2 separate regions of the Homo sapiens genome follow, and region 1 is linked to region 2. Evidence: promoter capture Hi-C in human tissues and cell types (Jung and others, 2019). All regions are on one chromosome and are shown on one strand. Each heading gives the region's core, a stretch centred on a gene start or on the middle of the fragment in contact. The rest is flanking DNA. Distances are from core to core; before and after follow the strand shown.

Region 1 (5,622 bases), core at 157-2,656, 450 kb before region 2:
CTATCTTATCTCGTTCATTAATGGTACGGTTTTCAAATTACATTCCTATAGAGTATATTATTTGGTCCTTAGAACATCTGCTTTAAAGCCGATAAGGCAGGTTATTTGATTTCTATTACAGAGGGATTAAGGGCTTTTTCTAAGAACACACTATTAAATAATAGAGCTAGGTCTAAAATTCAGGGTCTTCTCCAACATTTATTATGATGATTTTCAAACATAAAAAAGTTGTTTTTTGTTTTGTTTTGAGACAGGGTCTCACTCTGTCACCCAGACTGGGGTGCAGTGTCACACTCACAGCTAACTGCAGCCTCAACCTCCCCCGGGCTCAAGCAATCCTCTCACCTCAGCCTCCCTAGTAGCTGGGACTACAGGTGCACACTACCACATCTGGCTAATTTTTGTCTTTTTGGTAGAGATGGGTTTTGTAGAGATGTTGTCCAGGCTGGTCTTGAACTCCTGGACTCAAGGGATCTGCCCGCCTCGGCCTCCCAAAGTGCTGGATTAAGGCATGAGCCACTGTGCCCAGCCAATAATACAATTTCCTGTAAGTATTTGTTAAGTAGATAATAAAGACAAGATTTTTGTGAAGCAGTCTAGTGAATATCAATGAGGAAAACCTGGCAAAGTTTGAGTGAATCAATTCAGTGAAATCTGTCATTAAATAAGCTGACTCTTTCGAGAATTGGACAATAACTGAACAGTCATTTAGCAAACTGGTCAGCTTCTGCATGTAAACAAGCCATTTCTCCCCTCAGTTTCTTACTCTGTAAAATGAGGAGACTGGCGCAATGAAATACCATCTCATACCCATTAGGATAGCTACTATCAAAATCACAGAAAATAGTAAGTATTAGTGAGGATGTGGAGAAATTGGAACCTTGTACACGGTTGGCAGGGAGGTAAAATGGTGCAGCTGCTATGGAAAACAATTTGGCCGTTCCTTAAAAAATTAATTATCATATGATAATTGATATCACTTAACAGGGGATCCAGCCATTCCACTTCGGGGCACATATTCAGAAGAAATGAAAGTGGGATCTCGAGATATTGGTACGCCCATGTTCACAGTAGCAAATTCACAATAGCCAAAAGATGGACGTGACCCAAGTGTCCACTGATAGACAAACGGATAAACAAAACATGGTATATACATACCGTAATAGAATATCATTTAACATTAAGCAGGAATGGGCTGGGTGCAGTGGCTCACATCTGTAATCCCAATACTTTGGGAAGCCAAGGCGGGCGGCTCACCTTAGGTCAGGAGTTTGAGACCAGCCTGGCCAACATGGTGAAATCCCATCTCTAATAAAAATATAAAAAAATTAGCCGGGCATGGTGGCACATGCCTGTAGTCCCAGCTACTTTGGCGGCTGAGGCAGAAGAATCACTTGAACCTGGGAGGTAGAGGTTGGAACGAGCCAAAATTGCGCAACTGCACTCCAGCCTCAGCGATACAGTGAGACTCAGTCTCAAAAAAAAAAAAAAAAATTAAGCAGAAAGGAAATTCTGACACACGCTACAACATGGATGAAACTTGAGGATATTACGCTAAGTTAAATAAGCCAGTCACAAAAAGATAAATGCTGTATGATACTACTTATATGAAATACCTAGAGTAGTTAAATTCGTAAAGACGGAAAGTGGAATGGTGGGTGCCAGGGATCAGGGAAGAGGCAGTAGGAAGCTACTGTATGCTTACAGAGGTTCAGACACACAAGATGAAGAGAGTTCTGGAGATGGATGGTGATGGTTGTGCAAGTCTACTTACTACCACTGAACTATACACTTAAAAATGTTTTAGATGGTAAACTTTATGTTATGTATATTTCACCACCATAAAAAACATTGGAAAAAATGAGGAAGTTGGACAAGTTCTTTAAGGTTCCTCTCAGCTATTAAAATTTATGATTTTTTAAGGTCAACAAACCATTGTAAGTATTGAAAACAAAAAAGTAAATGTCTACTCTGTAAATAATATCATGTTGGAGGTTACAGAAGTGGGAGAGCTTTATGAAATGCCATAAAATCTATTTTTTTAGTTTGTTTTTTAGTTTAGAGACAGAGTCTCGATCTGTTACGCAGGCTGCAGTACAGGGCACAATCAGGTCACTGCAGCCTTGAACTCCTGGGCTCAAGTGATCCTCCTGCCTCAGCCCCCTGAGTAGTTAGAACAGGCACGTGCCACCATGCTTGGCTAATTTAAAAAAATTTTTTTTTGTAGAGACAAGAGTCTCACTATGTTGTCTAGGCTGGTCTCAAACTCCTGGCCTCAAGCAATCCTGCCTCGACCTCCCAAAGTGCTAGGACTATAGGCGTGAGCCACCATGCCCAGCTGACCTCTATTTTAGACTATATGTAATGAGGATGATGATGATGATTATTGCTCTGTATAAAGTAATGAATCCAGGTAACACAATGTTGCTTGAAAATTGTTGTGGGGATGTGATTTATAAACAGTTAAGAATTGTTGGTAGGTAGTTGATTACATGTTAAGTATACAAAAATAAATGGCTTTTATATTATTTAATATAAACAGGAAGGGTGTTAAAGAGAAATGCATCATAGCAACAAAAACTATAAATTACCCAGGAAATTAAAAATAGAACTACCATATGATTCAGCAATCTCACTACAGGGTATATAGCCAAAAGAAATGAAAACAGTATGTCGAAGAGATAGCTATCAGCACTCCCATGTTTACTGCAGCACTATTCACAATAGCCAAAATATGGAATCAACCTAAGTGTCCAATAATGAATGAATGTATAAAGAAAATATGGTATATCACACAATGGAATACTATTCAGCCATAAAAAAGCATGAAATCCTGTCATTTGTTACAATGTGAATGAACCTGGAGAACATTATGTTAAGTGACACATCAGACACAGAATGACACTGCATGATCTCACTCATATGTGGAATCTAAAAAAGTTGATCTCGGCCAGGTGCGGTGGCTCACGCCTGTAATCCCAGCACTTTGGGAGGCCGAGGTAGGTGGATCACTTGAGGCCAGGAGTTTGAGACCAGCCTGACCAACATGGTGAAACCCCGTCTCTACTAAACATATAAAATTAGCCAGGTGTGGTGGTGGGCACCTGTAATCCCAGCTACCTGGGAGGAAGAGGCAAGAGAATCGCTTGAACCTGGAAGGTGGAGGTTGCAGTGAGCTGAGATCACACCATGGCACTCCAGCCTGGGTAACAAGAGTGAACTTGTTATTCTCAAAAGAATAATAATAATAATAATAAATAAATAAATAAAAAAAGCTGATCTCATGGAAGTAGAGAGCAGAACAGTAGTTACCAGAGACTGGAGAGGGGGGTGGGGGGCTGAGGGGAGGATGGGAATAAGTTGGTAAATGAGTACCAAGTTACAATTATGTAGGAGAATAAGCTCTGGTGTTCTATTGCACAGCAGGTTAACTATAGTTAACAATAATATATACAGTCATGCAATGCATAACATTTCATCAATGATTGACTCTATATACAATGGTGGTCCCATAAGATTATAATAGGGCTGAAAAATTCCTATTGCCTAGTGATATCCCAGCAGTCATAATGTGGTAGCACAAGGCATTCAAGTTTGTGGTGATACTAGTGTAAACAAACCTACTGAGCCACCAGCCATACACACGCATAACACATACACTTATGTATAGTACATAATAATGATAGTAAATGACAATATTACTGGTTTATGTGTTTACTATACTTTTTATAGTTATTTAAGATATACCCCTTCTACTTATTAAAAAAAAGCTAACTGTAGGCTGGGCGCGGTGGCTCACGCCTGTAATCCCAGCACTTTGGGAGGCCGAGGCAGGCGGATCACCTAAGGTAGGGAGTTCGAGACCAGCCTGACCAACATGGAGAAACCCTGTCTCTACTAAAAATACAACATTAGCTGGGCGTGGTGATGCACGCCTCTAATCCCAGCTACTCGGAAGGCTGAGGCAGAAGAATCGCTTGAACCCAGGAGGTGGAGGTTGCGGTGAGCCGAGATTGTGCCATTGCACTCTGGCCTGGGCAACAAGAGCGAAACTCCAACTAAAAAAAAAAAAAAAAAAAAAAAAATAACTATAAAACAGCCTCAGACAGGTCCTTAAGGAGGTATTCTAGAAAGAAGGCACTGTTGTCATACGAAATGGTGGCTCCATGTGTGTTACTGCCCCTGAAGACTTTCCAGTGGGACAAGATGTGGAGGTGGAAGACAGTGATATTGACTCTGGGTAGGCCTAGGCTAATGTATGTGTTTGTGTCTTCATTTTTAACAAAAATGTGTAAAAAAGATTTAAAAATTTAAAGATAGAAAAAAGCTTATAGAAAGCTTATAGAATAATGAAATAAAGAAAGAAAATATTTTTATACTACTATACAATGTGTGTTTCCAGCTGTTATTACAAAAAAGTCAAAAAGTTAAAAAAATATTGAAAAGTTTTTAACATTAAAAAAGTTGGCCGGGCGCAGTGGCTCATGCCTGTAATCCCAGCACTTTGGGAGGCCAAGGCGGGCAGATCACTTGAGGCCAGGAGTTCGAGACTAGCCTAGCCAACACAGTGAAACCCTATCTGTACTAAAAATACAAAAAAAAAAAAAAAAAAAAAAATTAGCCAGGCATGGTGGTGAGCACCTGTGATCCCAGCTACTCGGGAGGCTGAGGCAGGAGAATCACTTGAACCTGGGAGGCAGAGGTTGCAGTGAACTGAGATTGAGCCACTGCACTCTAGCCTGGGCAACAGAGCGAGACTCCATCTCAAAAAAAAAAAAAAAAAGTTACAGTAAGCTAAGGTTAATTTCTTATTGAAGAAATAAAAACAATATTATTATTTTTGAGACAGAGTTTTGCTCTTGTTGCCCAGGCTGGAGTACAAAGGTGCGATCTCGGCTCACTGCAACCTCTGCCTCCCAGGTTCAAGTGATTCTCCTGCCTCAGCCTTCCAAGTAACTGGAATTATAGGCATGCACCACCACGCCTGGCTAATTTTGTATTTTCAATAGAGATGGGGTTTCTCCATGTTGGTCAGGCTGATCTCGAACTCCCAACCTGAGGTGATCCACCTGCGTCAGTCTCCCAAAGTGCTGGGATTACAGGCGTGAGCCACCATGCCCAGCTAAACATATTATTTTTATTTATTTATTCATTTATTTAGAGGCAGCGTCTTGCTCTGTTGTCCAGGCTGGAGTGCAGTGGTGTGATCAGAGCTCACTGCAAACTCTAACTCCTGGGCTCAAGCAATCCTCAGTTTCCTGATACCTAGGACTACAGTGTGCATCACCACACCCAACTAATATATATATATATATATATATTTTTTTTTTTTTTTTTTTTTTTTTTTTTGGTAGAGATGGGGTCTCGCTATGTTGTCCATGCTTGATTCCAACTACTGGCCTTAAGTGATCCCACCGCCTCAGCCTCCTCAAGTGCTGGCATTACAGATGTGAGCCACTGTGCCCAGCTAAAACATTGTTTATAAATTAAGTGTAGCCTGTGTACAGTGTTTTATAAAATCACCGGGTGCGGTGGCTCATGCCTGTAATCCCAGCACTTTGGGAGGCCGAATCGGGTGGATTACCTGAGGTCAGGAGTTTGAGACCAGCCTGGCCAACATGG
Region 2 (5,607 bases), core at 260-2,759:
TGTCCAGTCGGTATACACGCTGTGCAGTGTGTATGTGTACATACATGTCGCTGTATCGCAGAATGACATAAACAATGTGCGCCCTTCAGTACAAAACATTAAACAAGTACTAGCGTGCAGGTTTGAACTTTAAAATCTGTAATTCTACCAATGTTCTAATTTTTTAAAGATATAAAATGACTTCTGCTTACAAGGATAAAAGACAGCATACAGAAGCCAAGCTCAGCAGAAATGTAACCTGGCATACTGAACAATGTACACACTCGTTAATTTGGCACAGTGAGTCATTGAGTCATTATTTTCGTGGTCAAGTTCGAGATTCCTGGGGTTGGAGGGTGAGGGAAGGGGGTTGCTGCCAGAGCCCTGCCTCTGCTCTGCTGGGGGCAGCTCCCAGAGCAGGAGCCCCCTGCTAGGGCCAGGCTAGGCCTGCTAGGGCGGGCGAGGCTGAGGAAAAGACGGGTGAAAGAAGAATTTTACTTGTAATTACTCAGAACACCACCGCCTCCGCTGCAATTTCACTGAACTCCAAGCCCATATCTGCCATTCCGAAGTCTGAAAAGTTCAGTTTTTTCGGTTCATTTGGTGGCAAACAACCCCTTCAACTCCAAGGCCAGTCCGGGTCTGGTCACGGGGCTACTCCGAGGGCCGTGGAAGCTCGACCTCTCCTGCCGCCCGAGGGCAGGGACCGGGTGGCCCCGGGCACGCAGGGTGGGCGCCCTCAACGTGTTGTTCCCGGGGAACGCGTCTGCCTTGAGCTAGGGCCGAAGGCGGCGACCCTAGGCGCCAGAGGGCGGGAAGGCGGGTGGCCGCCGACCAAGCCTCCCCCTACAGGGTCCCCAGCCGACTCCGGGACCGCCGCAGTCCGCAGACGCCCGTCCCCGTGGCCCCCGCCCACGGCCCCCCTCTGCATCGGTCCAGCCCTGACCAGGCACCCCGCGTCCCCACCCCAGGAACGCGCCGCGCACCCCCGAGGCGGAGAGGCGCGGTTCCCACGGGAGGCCCGGGGTGGCCGCGCAGGTGCCGGCAGCCGCTGGGGCTCCCGGACGCTCCAGGCCCGCGGCCCAGTGGCACCTCCCGGGAGGGGCGCACGGTCTCCAGGGCCTCGCTTGTACCACGCGCCGGGAGCGGCATTCGCCTGAAGGGAAGGTCCGAGCGGGCGGAGGGTGCGCGCCGGGGCCGTCCCGCACCAGCTCCCCGGCTCTCTGCATTTCCTTTCCTCCAGGCCGGGGGGCGCGCGGTGCCGAGCGATGACCCTGCGCCCACCTCCGGAGAGCGAGCCGGGGCGGGGTCTTCTCTGCGGCCCCCACTTTCTCCGACACCCCCGTCGCCGTGAGCCAGGCGAGCAAATTCCTGCAGAAGCCCCGGGGTGCGGGGTCCCCGCCGCTGGGCGCCCGGGGGCTTCCAGTCCCTCCGCCTCCCTACCTGTCTTCGCTGGCGCCGGGAGGCTGCAGCCAGGGCCGCTCCGTCGGTGCCCGCCCAGGCCCAAGCCCGCGAGGTCGGCCGGGCCGCAAGGAACGCCCGCAGGGGTGGGACTTTCTCTCTCCGCCGCTGCCTGGCCTCACCCTCCACCCCGCCCTGTCTCACTTACCCACCTCCAATCCCCGTGGGAGGACAGAGCCCTTCGTAGAGGCCCTCGTGGTGACCGGTGTTGCCCGGGGCCTCCACCCGCTTGGGTCTGTGCCAAGGCTTGGCTCATCCTCCACTCTGGTCACCCCGTCTGTCCTCTCTTGGGTCAGCGCCAGTCACCTCTCCAATCCCATTTCCCCTTGCCCAAGCCTTCTAGCTTTGCCCTATCCGCTCCTCTTCATGCCTATCCTACACACAACACACCTGTGTCCAGCCACCACCTTCTCCACCCCTGGATCCTATTCTTCAGCCGCAACTGAGTTTCTCCGCACACGCTGCTGTTACCCATCTCCCAGCACGTTTTCTCACTCAGAATGCGCTCTCCCAATCCCCTCTACCTCTCAAACCCGTAGTCAGCCCTCAAAACCTTGGTCAAATGTCACTTTCCTTCCTTTCTTCTTTCTTTCCCTCCCTCCCTTCCTCTTTTCTTTCTTTCTACTTTCCTCCCTCACTTTCTTCTTTCTTTCCCTCCCTCCCTTCCTCTTTTCTTTCTTTCTACTTTCCTCCCTCCCTTTCTTCCTCTTTCTTTTCTTTCTTTCTACTTTCCTCCCTCCTTTTCTTTTTTTTTTTTTTAGACGGAGTTTCACTCTTGTTGCCCAGGGTAGAGAGCAATGGCTAGATCTTGGCTCACTGCAACCTCCGCCTCCTGGGTTCAAGCGATTCTCCAGCCTCAGCCTCCCTAGTAGCTGGGATTACAGGCGTCTGTATGATGCCTGGCTAATTTTTGTATTTTTAGTAGAGACAGGTTTTCACCTTGTTGGCCAGACTGGTCTCCAACTCCTGACTTCAGGTGATCCACCCACCTCGGACTCCCAAAGTGCTGGGATTACAGACGTGAGCCACTGCGCCCAGCCTTCTTCTTCTTTTTTTAAATAGAAACAAGGTCTCGCCCAACCTGGTCTCGAACTCCTGAGCTCAAGCAATCTTCCCACCGTGGCCTGCCAAAGTGCCACCGTGCCCAGCATGTCACCTGCTTTTGAAGCCGTCTCCACACCACCCCAGGCCGATGGGGTGCATGTCCTGCTCCCTCGGTTTCTGTCCCTGTTGCTGTGATTTGCTCAGCTGTGAGTCCCGGGGGGCAGGGCCTGCAATGCAGCCCCACCACCTGTGCCAGGGCACTAATTAGCATCAAGGCAGGGGCTCAACGCATGTGATCAACTTCATTTGTTTTCCTGGTTGTCCTTTTTCACAACCAAGACACTCTTTGCCTACCATTCTTTTTTTGAAACTGGAATTCACTCATCTTTAGAAACTGGTCCTGGACACGAGGGAGGTTGGGGGGAAGAAGTTGGGGAGAGGTTGGGGGTGGGGTGGTGGCAAAGGCTGGTCCCCTTCCCCCACGCTGTTCTGCCTTTAGCCCCTTGCTGGCCCTGCCACTTCTCCCTTGGCCTCATTTGGGCAAAGAGAAGTCACCAGCGGGAAGCTCAGCCCCACTTCAGCCCCCTGGCTCCAGCAGCTGCCTGTTTGGACAAAATGCTTATTAGAACATGGCCAGTTTAAATCAGTTTAAATCAGGTGCATTTCTTACCTATCAATGAAGACAGGAGGAGCAGCAGCTGTAGCGGGGCCCCTGGGGAGTTGTGTGAATTCTTAAGCAAAGATAAAGCTTGGCAGAGAAAGGGGAGTGGAATCATGCAGCCTCTCTAAAGAGGAAAAGCGCTTCTTCCATTCAACAAGCCCCACTCCCTGCCCCCACCAGCTGGGACTTTTCTGAGCTTGGTCAAAGGTCCTCTGTTAAGTGGGAGGAAAATGCTTCTCCCGCTGCAGGGTGGGGGAAGCTGAGGCCCAAGGAGCTCACTTTCCTGCTGTGTCCCTGCTTTTCCTATGATCCTTTCTTCTCAGACACCCAGGGCTGTGATTTCTTATGCCTCACGCCAGCTGCAAAGAGGACTCTGAGGTTGGGAGGCAGAACCCACACTCAGTGGTAAGGGACTGTCTTAGACCCACCAGCCAGGCCCTAGCAATTACTGGCTTGGGCAGGAATATTCTCTTTAAGCCTCATTTCTCCTCTGCTTACCTCACAGAGATGTGAACAGAACTGATGCATTAAAATAGGGTGGTTTAGAAAGAAGATTCCAGGAAAAAGTGTAAGACCTTCCTTCCTATTGTCAAGTCCCCTCTGTGCTGGCTCTATGCCACTCAGTGTCTGCACCTGAGACGCCCTCGCATTGGGGGTTTGGGGTAGCCTGGGGCGGAGGCAGACCTGGACTGGAAGGCTGCTCTGCTTCTCACTGTGTGTGTACTTGGGCAGGTCGGGTCACCTCCTTAAGCCACAACTTGCTCACTTGAGACTCATACAGCAGGTGGTAGAGTAGGGAAGTAACTGGTTTCCATAAAATTCCTACTAGATGCAGAATAAAAGTTAGTTCTGATCTGGGCGCAGTGGCTCATGCCTGGAGTCCCAATACTTTGAGAGGCTGAGGAGGGAGGATTGCTTAAGTCTAGGAGTTCAAAACTAGCCAGGGCAACACAGTGAGACCCTCCATCTCTACAATTTTTTTTTTAATTAGCCAGGTATGGTGGCAGTTGCCTGCAGTCCAAGATAGGGGTCCTCAATCCCCAGGCCACGGACCGGTACCTGTCCATGGCCTGTTAGGAACGGGCACACAGCAGGAGGTGAGCAAGCATTACTGCCTGAGCCCCGCCACCTGTCAGGTCAGTGGCAGCATTAGATTCCCACGGGAGCATGAACCCTGTTGTGAACTACTCATGCAAGGGACCTAGGGTGTGCATTCCTTAGGAGACTCTGATGCCTGATGATCTGAACAGGATCAGGCTTTAGACTGGAACAGTTTCTTCCCGAAACCATCCCACCCCGCTCCCAGACCTGAAAAAATTCTCTTCCATAAAACTGGTCCCTGGTGCCAAAAAGGTCGGGTACCACTGGCCAAGCTACTTGGAAGGCTGAGGCAGGAGGATCAATTGAGCCTGGGATGTCGAGGCTGCAGCGAGCTATGATTGCACCACTGCACTCCAGCCCGGGCAGCAGAGCAAGACCCTGTCTCTAAAAAAATTTTTGTTAAATTTCTGTCCTGTGCTCCCGCCATGTGTATCCTCAATTCTCTACATTTTCATATCTCCACAGATTGCAGATCTAAGGATGAGGCTAAGAAAGAAGTGGCCAGATCTCTTTGTGTGGTTGGGTTGGGATGGAAGGCTGGAGAGAAGAGAGAGGGCAAAATGCCAAGAGCCTCGGGGCTCCCAGGATTCACCTCCTCCAGGAAGCCTTCCTGTACATCTGGCTCTGCACTCCCATCGGTGCCGGGCTTTGCCCTAGCACTTTCAAACTACTGCAGTGATGTAGTTGTTTCTCTTTCTCTCTCATAATTGTGAACATTGCAAGGGCAGAGATCCATTTTCATGTTATACCCTGGACCAGAGGTTCATGGTGGCCCTGAAGGTTTGCCTCAAGAGAGGGGCTTTGAGAAGTGTAACTGGTGACCAGCTTCCAGTGGCTGCACTCAGCCCCACACCAGGTTCTGAAGACTCCCCCTGCACCTCCTCCTCCCCGCAATTCATCTTCACAGGCGCTCCCCTGTAGATCTCTCGCACATCTAGTCCCGTCTCAGCCTCTGCTCTCAGAGGGCCTGAACCAACCCTTGCGGTTCTTGGTTGCACATCACAGAAAAGGACTGAGTCAGCTTAAACAGGAGAGTTGCTTAGAAGAGAGGCAATGGGAGATCGCAGATTGACAGGAGGGCTGAAAATCAGGCACATGCTTGGGCTGGACCCCCGACAATGTCCTAGTTGTAGTCCAGGAGCAGTTCCAGTTAGGATCTATGCTGCTCTTCCGCTGGACGCTGAACTCGTGTCACCACCAATTTTAGGCAATGCTGACACATGCCTAGAAAAACCCTGAAGCGTCCTTGTAGACTCACTCCCCACAGGAACATGCCTGTACCCTGATGGCCAGGACCTGAGAAACAAGAATTGGCAGGGTCCCCAGGTGGAAGTTCAGATGGCAGCTGCCCCAGAAAACAC

Evidence for each region. Contacts are between HindIII fragments. The study calls those that stand out against the background at their distance.
Region 1: a fragment that was not itself captured here is called in contact with the fragment with the promoter of PAPLN in region 2 in 1 of the 25 tissues and cell types used here (hippocampus).

Annotation. Positions count from the first base shown.
Region 1 is chr14:73,681,333-73,686,954 of GRCh38, reverse strand. The region is part of intron 5 of DNAL1 (dynein axonemal light chain 1); the gene reads right to left. Among named protein-coding and RNA genes, the nearest start is that of PNMA1, 30 kb to the left of the region's middle. RefSeq lists an enhancer at 1,258-1,427. The HindIII fragment of the contact is 5,854 bases long and covers 1-4,333 here.
Region 2 is chr14:73,233,408-73,239,014 of GRCh38, reverse strand. PAPLN (papilin, proteoglycan like sulfated glycoprotein) reads right to left here and starts at 1,509. Exons shown (of 27, transcript NM_001365906.3): 1 at 1,423-1,509. RefSeq lists enhancers at 948-1,518, 2,092-2,663, 2,664-3,236 and a silencer at 2,580-2,874. The HindIII fragment of the contact is 14,518 bases long and covers 1-4,500 here.